2 separate regions of the Homo sapiens genome follow, and region 1 is linked to region 2. Evidence: promoter capture Hi-C in human tissues and cell types (Jung and others, 2019). All regions are on one chromosome and are shown on one strand. Each heading gives the region's core, a stretch centred on a gene start or on the middle of the fragment in contact. The rest is flanking DNA. Distances are from core to core; before and after follow the strand shown.

Region 1 (6,197 bases), core at 2,954-5,453, 1.1 Mb after region 2:
GCTCAAGTGATCTTCCCACCTCAGCCTTCCAAGTAGCTGGGACTATGGAAGCACCACCACACCCTGCTATTTTTTTTTTTTTTTTTTTTGAGAGACGGAGTCTCACTATGTTGCCCAGGCTGGTCTCAAACTCCTTAGTTCAAGTGATCCTCCCGCCTTGGGCCCCCACAGTGCTGGGATTCCAGGTGTGAACCATGGCACCACGCCAAAAGTAAGAATATTTGATTACATTTTAGAGATAGAAAGTATTCAAGTATAGATTCACTTATACATATACAGCATTATGTAGACAAAGAATGAAGAATTAGACTCCCCAACTACTTTCCAGTACTCTGCCCATTGACCTCTGGTTCCTCTGATTTGTGATCTATGCTTATTGTTTCTCCATTCTATTCAGTCATATTTTTAACTTTTTTAATCCAGCAATTTTTATTCTGCATGTTAGTCTAATAATTACGGAATTCATTGCTGACTCAGAGAATCTAAACAGGTTAATTCAGGCAAATGCCCGAAGCAGGGATAAGCAGATAAAGATGTCATAAGGACACAGTTTACAAATGTTATACATAATAGATGCTGTGATTCCATAGATTAAGGCAAACACCATTGTAACCTAAAAGTGAATTCTGTAAATGGGGTAACTATCTCTGTTTTAAAAGCTCCATAGATGCTAAAGTTTATTCAAGGAACTAGTAAACCATGTTTCTTTCTATGTTTTCATATTTCCTGTGGCTTCAAGAGGCCATTGTCATAAATAGTAAATTACAGTTTTTGTTTTTGTTTATCCCTGTTCTCACATCTGGAAACTGGAAACTAATCATACTCCTGGTTCACACAGCCTGGATATTTTGCTCATTGTGGAATATATATTAAAATGAGAGGCAATAAGCAGGTGTTTATTTTATAACAGAACATGGAAGGTTAGAGGTAGAAGGGTTCTTAGAGATCACTCAGTCCAACACCCCCATCTTTTTCACTTTAGCAACCTGAAGCTGAAAGAAGGGTTGACGATTGCCCTTTGTCCCTGAGTATGCATTTGGCAAGGGATATATTTTGAAATATTTGTGTCTCAAAGAATTCTCTTTCCTCAAACTTGCTGATCACCAGGAGTAATAGAGGTTGCCTTACACACTTTCATATGTCTTATAGACATTATGTGTCTGGGAAGCCTGAAGTTAAAAATAAAATAATATTACCCCAAACAAAACTTACTTGGTTCCGGGGTTGGCAACAGCAGGGGATTGAGAAACTATCCTCTGGTAGCTGACATTTAATGGGACTTATAAAAAAGAAAAGCTGTATTATTGCTGTGTAACTGTGAAGCACAGGACACACATGTCTACTGTGGAGCCTTCTAGCATGCCAGTAGAGCAGAGAGAATAGCCGCCTGTACATGTCACTGAGTCTACAGCTGACCAAGCCCACCCATTCCCCTCTTGGGAGCTTTCCTGCTAGCATCTTGTTCCTCAGATATCAGGTGCTCTGCCTAGCTGTAACAAAACAGTGCTGAGGGCAGGAGAGTTTTAGCTCCCTCTCCCATCTAGAAACCAAATGGACTCCCTGGAAGAAAAACAAGTATGTCAAATTTCTCAAAGGTAGTGACTTGTCATGTGGGATCCCCAGTTCCTTAGAAGGTCTACCAAAGAGTGGAACAATTTTCAGTATTTCAAACGGAAATCACACATTGAGCCACAAGGCTACACAGACTAAGTATAGCATCAAGTTTCTTTCCTTTGGCTTAAATTCCGTCACTCAGTGGGATTATCTCAGGCTTATCAGGAGCTCTGAAGAGTAGTTAAAGATATCTCAGACAACTAAAAATGAAGAAATCATTACCCATTAGATGACAATAAGGTCCCTTGAAAGACAAGATGAAATAATAAGAGAGATTTCTGTGGGTATGAGAAAGACTCAGAAGTACTGGTTTTAAACCAAAGAAAACTTTATATCCAAAGATTCCTCAAAAAATTATCTAAGAGAAACCCCCTCCCCTATTCCAGCTCTCCCCTCCGGTTCCATGACAATCACTCACTGGGCAGGGCAGGGAGGTTTTCCTGTGACTGGTGGCTTGCAGTCGGTGGCGTTCCCGGAGTCCTCTCTGATCCTCCTCTCTCCAGCTGTGGCCCCAGAAGCTGCTCATCCATTTGGCAAAAGACACATCATCATCATCATCATCTTTGTGCTCCATGTAAAGGTGATGCCAAATACTGAAGGCCTGTCCCTAAATGCGACAGAGGGAAATATCACCCAACAGGGCTGACAATGAAACCCAGGATCTCTCCCAAAAGACAAAATGAAACTGGTCTTTTTAAAATGGTCTCCGATACTGGCATCCTTAAAGGAGAAAGATTTACTAAACAACCACTTCATCATCAGGCAGCCTTGGGCAATGTCTATTTATAAATTGTGCAGCCCACATTCCCCTCCCCTTGTCTTTTTAAATTGAGAGGCTTTCTAATCCTTCCATTGCTGGGGCTTGTGCCTCACAGCCTAAGGGTGGGATGCAGAGTCCACTGCCTGGTTTTCCCTGTGCTTTGCTGCCAATGACATGTGATGGCATCTCCAGCTGTCAATGATGATGGAGCATGACCCTCACAATATGCCTGTCAGCTCCAGGCAAGCTCTGAAATGGGGCCACATACAAGGAACAGACTGACCACAGCTTGCAAGGTAGCCAGCTGTTGCCATGTCATATCTGGAGCTAGATACTCTCCTAATAAAATGATATTGATATAAAATCCAGCTCCTAGATCAAAAGGAGTAGTTTTTTAAATTGAGGTATTACTTATATATGTACACATGTAAATAATATACAAGTACGTGTAAAATGTACAAATCATAAGTGCACAGCTTGATGAATTTTTATATACATATACCCCTGTGTTACCACCACCATGCAGGTAAAGACATAAAACATTGCCAGCACCCCAACTGGCTCCATGTATCCCCCTTCCAATCCATACTCCCTTCAAAAGTTTACCATTAATGATCTGTGTCACCATAGATTAATTTGCTTGTTTTTGAACTTACTTTCAATGGCATTATACAGTATGCATTATCCTGTGTTATTCAACATGATGTCAGTGAGATATATCCATGTTTTTGCAGTAACAATAGTTGACGCTGTGTGTAGTATTGCATTGCATCAACATGTCACAATTTTTTAAAAATTCAGTCTACTAGTGATGGTCATTTTAGGCTGTCATTTAGGTTACTTCTAGTTGGGGCTTTTATAAAGTTTATATAAATTTTATAGTCCCTGTCTTTTAGTGGGCATTTTTTTCAAAGTAAAGAGAATATTACATTTATGGAACTCCTACTTTGCATCAAGTATGGAGCCAAGTATTCCATATACGCTAATTTTCTTTTTTTCTTTTTTTTTTTTTGAGATGGAGTCTCGTCCTGTTGCCCAGGCTGGAGTACAATGGCATGATCTCAGCTCACTGCAACCCCCACTTCCCAGGTTCAAATGATTCTCCTGCCTCAGGCTCCCAAGTAGCTGGGATTACGGGCACCCACCACCAAGCCCAGCTAATTTTTGTATTTTAAGTAGAGATGGGGTTTCACCATGTTGGCCAGGCTTGTCTCAAACTCTTGACCTCGTGATCTGCCTGTCTCAGCCTCCCAAAGTGCTGGGATTACACGCGTGAGCCACCACGCCAGATCCCATATATGCTAATTTTCTTATAACAACCCTGTGACTGGGAGATTTGTATGACATTTTACTGATAAGGAAGTTGAGATGCAAATAGATCACCCCTTGCCAAAGTGAAATTAATACTAAGCGGCAAAATCAAGTTTGAAGCGGGGAATAGAAAAACAAAGTCCAGGCTCTTTCCACCATCCTGCCAGTATTTCAAGAGAACTTGGAGAAGTCTCGCATTTTCAATCAGGAATTCTTGGCCATTTGCCCTACGAAAATCCTTCCTTGAGCTGCAAAAAGATAAGCTTGATAACTATGACCAATGTTTACAGAGCATGGCATCACAACTTTTATGTTACTAAGGAAAAGTAGCCAAAGCTTAACATATCTTCTAACATTTTTATTTTTTGCAAATGGCCAAGACTTCCTGTGTTATCACAACTCATTGCTGGAGGAATTAAGCACATCCTGTGGGACTTCACTGGAACAAGACTTTTTGGAAGAGTGTGCCTAATTTCCTCCAGACTGTACCCCATATGCCTTTTCCATTTTCTTTCTCAGTTTTACCTTGTATCCTTTCAACATAATAAATCTTATCCATGAGTACAACTATATGCTGAGTTCTAGCAAATCCCCAAACTGGGGATGACAGCTACTATCAGAAGTGGGATTTGCTAAAAAAACAACCCAAACCACTGAACTATGGCTAAAGCAGGGTTTGGGAAAAGGAAGGATGAAGAAGACATGATGGTGAACCTTCAATGCCCAGTGGCTACCTAGCCATCTATAGTATGAATCAGCTGCTGAGATGATGTCTGTTGTGAGAGGTAAAAGTTACCTACAGAATTCAAAATGACAGATCCAACCCCAGGACAATTGGTTCATTAGATTCCTTGGCTGCTTTTGGCCACGGGTAGCTAAAATGAAGGGATTAAAAAGTGCAGCCTGGCTGATGCCTTTGGGTTTTGTTCTCTCCTCTAGATGAGAAGAGAAAGGGCCCAAACATTCCCAAAACACATTTTGCATGGGCCAAAAATGTTAAAAGTTTGCATTGCTTTCTCCTCCAAGTGGGAAGGAAGAGAAAGCAATGCAAACTTTTAACGTTTTTGTTAAGTCAGTTCCAAGAGCTAGAACAAGGCTTTAGATAAACCAGCAAGAAAGGGGAGGGGGGAAATAATACCCCATCGCCTCATACAGCAGCCCCTTGCATTCCAACTGGGAATCTCTCACCAGGTATAATGTGAATCATATACGCTGAATTTACCACTTTACTACTAGGAGTTTGAGTAAACCTGCAATGAAAAAAAGAGAGATTTTTTAAAATGGCTTCTATTCTGTGTCTATAGCACCTGAATATATGATAAAAACTGATGTAAAATATTATATGCTTATACTTTCATAAATGCTTGAGGGATTACCCCAGTTAGGGAAAGCTACTCTATAAGAAGTATTAGAAGAATATGCACCTCTTGATTTTTGTTGCTACTAGATGAATTACAATGTAAACTCTGAGTATTTAAGTACTGAAATCTCCATAACTGATTATTTTTGCTATAATTTTTGCCTGTTGGAGCCTATGGGAAAAGGTAGACAACATAGAAGCATAGCTCATCTCCACTGGAAAAAACACCTTTTGAATTTTAAAAAGCAGTTTTTAGTTTGCTAATAAGTTCTTATATAATCAGGTGTCTGTCTGACCCTTAGAGGCTAATGATTTTCCAGCCTAACGTGCATATTTTGGAGTGGGTCAATTGGACTCTAAATCTGACCGTGTAAACAGGGCTTAGAAAACATTTCTTGTCAATTGGACTTGGAACAAAGCCGTTTGGCCCTGTATCTTCTTGGCTTTGCTGCTGCTATAGAGGAAAAGTTGCTAGCTAGTTTGGAATCCTGAATTCATAGATCCTAATTGCCTGGAGCTTATGCTAAGCTTGATACTGTCTGTGAGGGATTGTTCCAATCTCTGAAGACAGGCGTAGGCTCAAGGAACATAATTCAGCCTCGGGGACTATTGCAGGTTTGTTTACAACACTCCTCTGTGGGGCCATAAACTCTGCTATCCGAATCACATGGATCACTTGCAGATGCCTACGGGAAAGGGCTTGCTCTTTGATAGGACCATTTGAAACCGAACTAGTTGCACCAGAAATGATGAATCCCAAGAACCCTGTCAAAAGCTGCAAGCTAGGGGAGAGCACATCACAGAGAGTGGGACCCCTCCATCCACTCCTGACAGATAGGGCTCTTGACCCCTTATGGGATAGCTCACTGCTATTAATTTGTGTTCAGCTTGCCAGAGTATTTTGAAATTTGCAATGATGGATTGATAGTCTGACTCTTCTTTGCTCACCTCTCTTCTTAGTTAGGCAGTTTGATTGATAAATGCAGCTGTTCCTAGACAGAAATTGATATTTTCTAGGCTGCTTCCTGAATAAATAATCAGGACAAAAGGGATAGGGTAATGTAAACACAGTCTGAAAATTTTGAAAATTCAGGATTTTGTCCTAGCCCATTCTGGAACATGATGTGTTTTTTCTGGTTGTTACATGAAACA
Region 2 (6,253 bases), core at 36-2,535:
AGGGAAGAGAGAGATGGAGTTCCAGCTTAACTAACAGAATTGTACGTGTTTTTTAAAAAGGAAATCCTGGGTCCAAAGTAATTAACATTACACTTAATCTTTTCAATAATTTTTGTTCCCAAGGCAATTAACATGAAACATTATGTTAGTAGGTCTACTAGTGGCCTTCATATGCTATTAATCGTTTCTATTTTCTCATATTAAATAATTTCGGGAATGATAACTAAGGTGGTCAGAATAGAGAATAATGTTTAAAATGTTCTAAAAACATTTTAAACAGCTCGCACGTGTTAAGTCACTTGTCTTGTTATGTGCAAAGAGGGAGCTGGAGAGATTACGTTTCTTTTCCTTCACGCACAAGACCCGAATTTAGGGAGTGGAATGGACAGAATAAGGATAGCTGTAACCTGAGTTTAACGTCGTAACAAAATACAGGAAGAGTCACGCTAGACTATTTAGTCGCCTAAGTATCTGGCAAGCGGTCAGCTGGCAACAGCCTAAGGGAGATACTTCAAAGAAAAGCAACCAAACCTTAGCCCTAGACCCCGCAGCTTAAACCAGAGGGCAGGCAAAGGCATTCCTCTTCCCCTCCATCACCTCGGCCCATCCTGTCACAGGGTCAATATTAAACTTGGAAGTAAAGGAAAGAGAGCAGGCCGGAGTTGTCCACCTCCTCAGTGAAAAGGGAGCAGCAAGCGTAATTAACTCCTGCGTGTAACTGAGAGGCCGGCACCGTCAGAAACTCAGCCTGCGGCCAGTTCCCGCGGCAACTACTCGGTGGCTCGCACTGTGTGTATGTTATGTCTCATGAGCGTCTCCGGTGTGTGTGTTTTGTGTGATGTGCGTCTCCGGTGTGGCGGTAGCGGCTCCTGCACCGCCGCTCCTGGTCCCACCCCGAGTTCGGTCTCCCTTTCTGGCGCCCATCTCCCTTCTCCTCGGAATCAGGGCCTCCGCTGGGGCCAGGAGGTGACGAACAGTGGCCGGCTCTCCCCAGGCAAGGAGGCGATGTAGGCCCGGAGCCCAGAGGGCCGCATCGGGCGTGCCCGAGGCAGGTCTGGGCCCAACACCTGGCCGGGTGAGGTCCAGATCCGCCCATTCTCGCCCCACCCCACTCCCCCCACCCTGGGAGCTCAAAGAAAGGCCCGGAGCATCCCACGCTGCCCACGACGCTGGGGTTGTGTTCACCTCCGGCGGCTCCAGCTCGCTGCGACTTTTCAGGCTTCTCGTCTCCCGCCTTCCCGTCCGCCATTTTCCCCGCCGCGGCCTCCCCTGCAGCCACGCCAAGGACGTCACGACCCCGCCCAACAACCATCGAGTTTTTGGGGCCAGCCGGCGTGGTGGCAGCCTAGAGCGGTCCCGAGGAATGAAAAGAGGCCGCCTTCGGAAGCGGAAGTGGATGTGATGTCATCGAGTAGCCGCCTCGGAAGGAAGAGCTGGGAAGGTTGGGCGGTCTAAGAGTGCTGGCTAGGCACTTTATTAGAGGGCAGTCAGGTCTTCATGGTCTAGCGACAGGTCCGGAGAAGTGAGGGGAAATGGAGCATCTCCCTGGAAACGCTGGGATCTTAGAAGGTTTCTGCATACCCAGATGTGGTTGCAGCTGAGGCTGAGAGTGTCTTCCGTTCCGGCCTTGCTGGATAACGCATGCCTGCCAACTCTATGTAAACAAAAAGCCTGCATTCTTTTTCCCTAAAGGGGAAATCAGTGTTTATCTAGCGCCCCCTAGCTTCAGACGCCTTTCATACACTCGTTTAATCACGGCGATTGTCCAAATATAGAATTCTCCTCTCAATTACCTGTAAGAGTTGAGGTCAGAGAGAGTAATTTGTCTAAGTCACGTAGCCAACTGTAAAGTTACTTTTTGTATAGTCTGCTTCTACCAAGTTGAGAAACTACTATGTCAAGTTAAGACTGCAGTAATTTCTGCCTTAATAAGAAACCTTTAGTGGATTCCTACAGTCTGCATTCTGAAGTCCGTGAGTTACATTAGGCCCTAGCCTACCTTTTCGGCTTCATCTTCCCCCTTTCTCAGTATTTATCCAGCCCTCCTAGCCAAATGGGGTCTATTACTTGCTTAGGGAACTGGAGTTTCTGGGTTTGTCTTACCATATATAGTTAGAGAAAGTCTTAGGAGTCAGAACTTGGATTTGAATCTGTTTTGCCCTTTCCTGCTTGAGTAACCTTGAGACTTGCTTACTGCCTACAGAGCTACCTTTTCTTCTCTATAAAAGAGCAATAATAATAGTACCTCCTCAAAGAGTGGTAATAGGGATCAAATGAGATCATCTTTGTATACCATTATTTGGTCACTTCATACTTCCCTCAGTTTGTGTGTGTGTGTGTGTGTGTGTGTGTTTTAAGTGTTGTCTCTCTGAATGGCTCAAAAGTTCCTTGACAACAGAGACCAGTTTTTAAAAACTGTGTACTGTGCGTTTCATATATGAATATAAAAAGTGTTCAATATTTGCGGATGGATTACTTCTCGGGCTTCAAGTCCAGGGAGTGGAGAAAGAATGAAGAAATTATCAAAGTGTGTTTCCCATGACAGAAGCAGGGCAGTGTGGTGGTGATTTTGTGATCTAGGTTGAAGTCCCTGATCCATCATTTATCATATATGTAAAAGTAACCAGCAAACTATCTTACAGGTACTTAATTCATGTTTGTTTCATTTTCCTTGTGATCTTTTCAAGGTAATCATTGAGACTCTCGTTTCTATCATTTTAAAAATGGAGATATACACGAAGATTTTTATTTGAGATTATGTATTTACAGATGCTTGTAATTTTTTATGGGGGGTGGAATGGAGTCTCTCATTCTGTCACCCAGGCTGGAGTGCAATGGCATGGTCTTGGCTCACTGCAACCTCCGCCTCCTGGGTTCAAGCGATTCTCCTGCCTCAGCCTCTCGAGTAGCTGGGACAACAGGCGCGTGCCACCACACCCGGCTAATGTTTGTATTTTTAGTAGAGACGGGGTTTCACTATGTTGGCCAGGCTGGTCTCGAACTCCTGACTTTGTGATCCGCCCACCTTAGCCTCCCTAAGTGCTGGGATTACAGGCGTGAGCCACCGTGCCCGGCCGATGCTTGTAATTTTTAAGTGAAGAAGATAAAGCTCAGAGAAGTCACATACCTATTTAGGAGCGGATCCAGTTCCCATATACCACACTGCAGAAGTTAAGGATGCATGTGCAGGACTAGGTATGAAAGGAAAAAAACGAAACAAAAAAAGGATGAAGATAGTAATCCATTCACCTTTCAGTTCTGTGAGTTTCATGAGGTGTGCCTGTCTTGTTCACCACTGTTTCCCCAGCACCTGGATTATACTAGTCTGGATAAATATCTATTGAAGAAATTAATGCAAGCTTCAGTAACCTCCTACAAACGGGTTAGGAAATGGAAAGGTAGTGTAGTATGAAGGGGTGGAAAGGGGGTGATCACTTTCCTCCCCATCAAAAGAGTCATGACAACATGCTTGTTAATAAAAGACAGGTTAACAAGAGAAAATTAATGTGCATAAGCATGGGAATGATACAACAAAATAAGAAAACTAAAAAAAGGGTCAGATGGTTGAAGTTTAATACTTTTCATAGGGGAGAGAGAGGTGGGGGGGCTACAGGCAATTTTAGAGGAGTAGTAAATGATTTTAGGAGAGATTAATGCAGAAATTCACTTGTAAATTATTCTCTTTGTAAACCAAGTGAAACTAGAGAACCAATAATAATTCGAAGGCCAGTCGTGGTGACTCACTCCCATAATCCCAGCTACTAGGGAGGCTGAGATAGAAGGATCACTTGAGCCCCGGAGGCAAGGTTGCAGTGAGCCAAGATCTCGCCACTGCACTCCAACCTGGGTGACAGAGTGAGACCCTGTCTCAAAAACAAAAAACAGTAGTTTGAGGCAAAGTTTGGGCTCTAAGTGTGGTGGTTAATTTTCAGTCTCTTCCTCTATGATGTGAGTTTTGTTTTTTTATGAGACCAGGTCGCACTGTGTTGCCCAGGCTGGAGTGTGGTGGCTATTCACAGGCATGATGATAGCACACTACAGCCTCAAACTCCTGGCCTCAAGAATCCTCCCATCTGAGACTCACAGGTAGCTGGGACTACATGTGTGCACCACTGTATCTGGCTTTGTGATATGTTTTAATTTCTTCTGGTTAATGAAATTTCAGGGAGGAAGCAGATAGAAAGCAATTGTGTTCTTTGATGTGTGTGGTTTCTAGGTAGATAAGAAACTTCAAAGAACAGTCTTATCCCGTGTTTTGGGGGAGGCAGAGGATTGAGAGGCAGGAGGTGGGGTGGGGAGATCAGAGAAACCTTGCGGCTGCTTCTCTAGTTCAGCATGTCAAAGCACCAAATTTTGGGGTACCGTTTTCTGACAATGAATAGGCAATGTAGTCCAAGGCAAAGAGCATTAGTTTTGCACCACACAAAAACTCGACTTAAATTCTAATTCTGCATTTTGCTAATTCTGTGAGTTTGTACTGGATAACAATGTTATGGAATATGTTATAACTATACAAATGGAATAATACATATAGGGTTACTGAGGGCATTGGGATAATAAAGGTTAAATCTATAATATGCTGCCTGGCCATGGTGAGAGCTTGCTTCATAGTAGCTATGGATTATAACCTCTAGTGAGCTATTTAAGTGGTTTAAAAGGCTGGAAATGGAAGGTAATATGAGCAATTATTATTTTAATTTAGATGTGTAATTTGTGAGGCGACAACTATAATATCTAACATTTATTCAAGCTTACTATACACCAAGCATTGTTGCAGGTATTCTACATGAAATTCAGTACATTAAATCATTACAACCCTGTGAATTAAGTGCTACTGTTACTCCCATTTTTATGGAAGAGGGAATTTGGGCACGGAAAAGATAAGTAAGAAGTGGAGCTGAACTTGAAATTCAGGCCAAGAGCTACCAAAAAAAAAAAAAAAAAAATTAGAGTGGAGAAGAAAAGTGGCTAATCTTGATTTCACTAACCTTAAGTAGGTTCTTTTTTTTGTTTTGTTTTTGTTTTTGTTTTGAGACAGGATCTCGTTCTGTTGCCCAGGTTAGAGTACAGTGGCTCATAGCTCACTGCAGCCTTGAACTCCTGGGCTGAAGTGATCCTCCTGCCTTAGCCTCCCAAAATTCTCGGATTACAGGCATGAGCCATTAAGTAGGTTCTTAATGTAGCCTTATAATTCTATTACATGTCCTCAGACTATTCTCAATTTCAGTGTACATCAGAATCACCTGAAGGACATGTTAAAACAGATTGCTGGGCCCCATTGCCAGTTTCTGATTCAGTTGACTCAATGGCTGGAGCCCTAAAATTTGCATTTCTAACTAGTTCCCAAGTAATGCTGATGCTGCTCGTTGGGGAACCACACTTTGAGAACCACTGCCCTAATTCACTCACTTTCCTATACTATTTCATGTTTTGTTGGCTCTCCAAAAATGTCCATTACGTCCTCCCACTTGGGATGATTTTGCTTTTTATTTTCAGTGAGAAAATAATAGTAATCAAACAGAACTTCTATATATTCTCAACCATATCTGAGGTGTGGTACCTGCATTTATACCTATATACTATGTGTTCTGTTACTTATGAAGTGGAGCCTGTCCTTGTTTACACACATCACTATTGTTCCATCCGATTTTTCTTTCTACTATTGAAACATTCCCAACATCATACATACATGCTTTTATGTCTCCTATCTTAGTAAAAGACTCTTCTCTTGATCTCATATCTTCCTGTAGCTCCTCATTCCTATTTTCCTTCATATAGAAACTTTGAAAAGATTGTTCATACTCTGTCTCCTATATCTCTGTCCATTCTTTTTTTTATCTTTTGAGACAGGGTCTTGCTCTGTTACCCAACCTGGAATGCAATGACATGATCTTGGCTCACTGCAACCTCCACATCACACGCTCAAACGATCCTCCTGGCTTAGCCCGCCAAGTAGCTGGGACTAAAGGTGAACACCACCATCCCTGGCTAAGTTTTGTAGAGACAGGGTTTCACAATGTTGCCCAGGCTGGTCTCAAACTCCTGGACTCAAGGGATCCACCTGCCTTGGCCTCCCAAAGTACTGGGAGTACAGGTATGAGCCACCACACCTAGTCCCGTCCCTTCTTTTCGTTTTTGTTTTTTTTGAGACGGAGTCTTGCTCTGTCACTCAGGCTGGAGTATAGTGGCACAGTCTCGGCTCACTGCAACCCCCGCCTCCTGGCTTCAAGCAGTTCTTCTGTCTCAGTCTCCT

Evidence for each region. Contacts are between HindIII fragments. The study calls those that stand out against the background at their distance.
Region 1: a contact is called between a fragment that was not itself captured here and the fragment with the promoter of PCNP in region 2, in 1 of the 25 tissues and cell types used here (bladder).

The regions. Positions count from the first base shown.
Region 1 is chr3:100,425,721-100,431,917 of GRCh38, reverse strand. It overlaps LNP1 (leukemia NUP98 fusion partner 1), which reads right to left. Exons shown (of 4, transcript NM_001085451.2): 2 at 2,033-2,221. The coding sequence starts at 2,188. Among named protein-coding and RNA genes, the nearest start is that of LNP1, 27 kb to the right of the region's middle. The HindIII fragment of the contact is 4,668 bases long and covers 1,870-6,197 here.
Region 2 is chr3:101,569,212-101,575,464 of GRCh38, reverse strand. PCNP (PEST proteolytic signal containing nuclear protein) reads right to left here and starts at 1,285. Exons shown (of 5, transcript NM_020357.3): 1 at 1,186-1,285. The coding sequence starts at 1,249. RefSeq lists enhancers at 766-925, 946-1,105, 1,186-1,315, 1,416-1,685, 1,129-2,074. The HindIII fragment of the contact is 9,941 bases long and covers 1-4,055 here.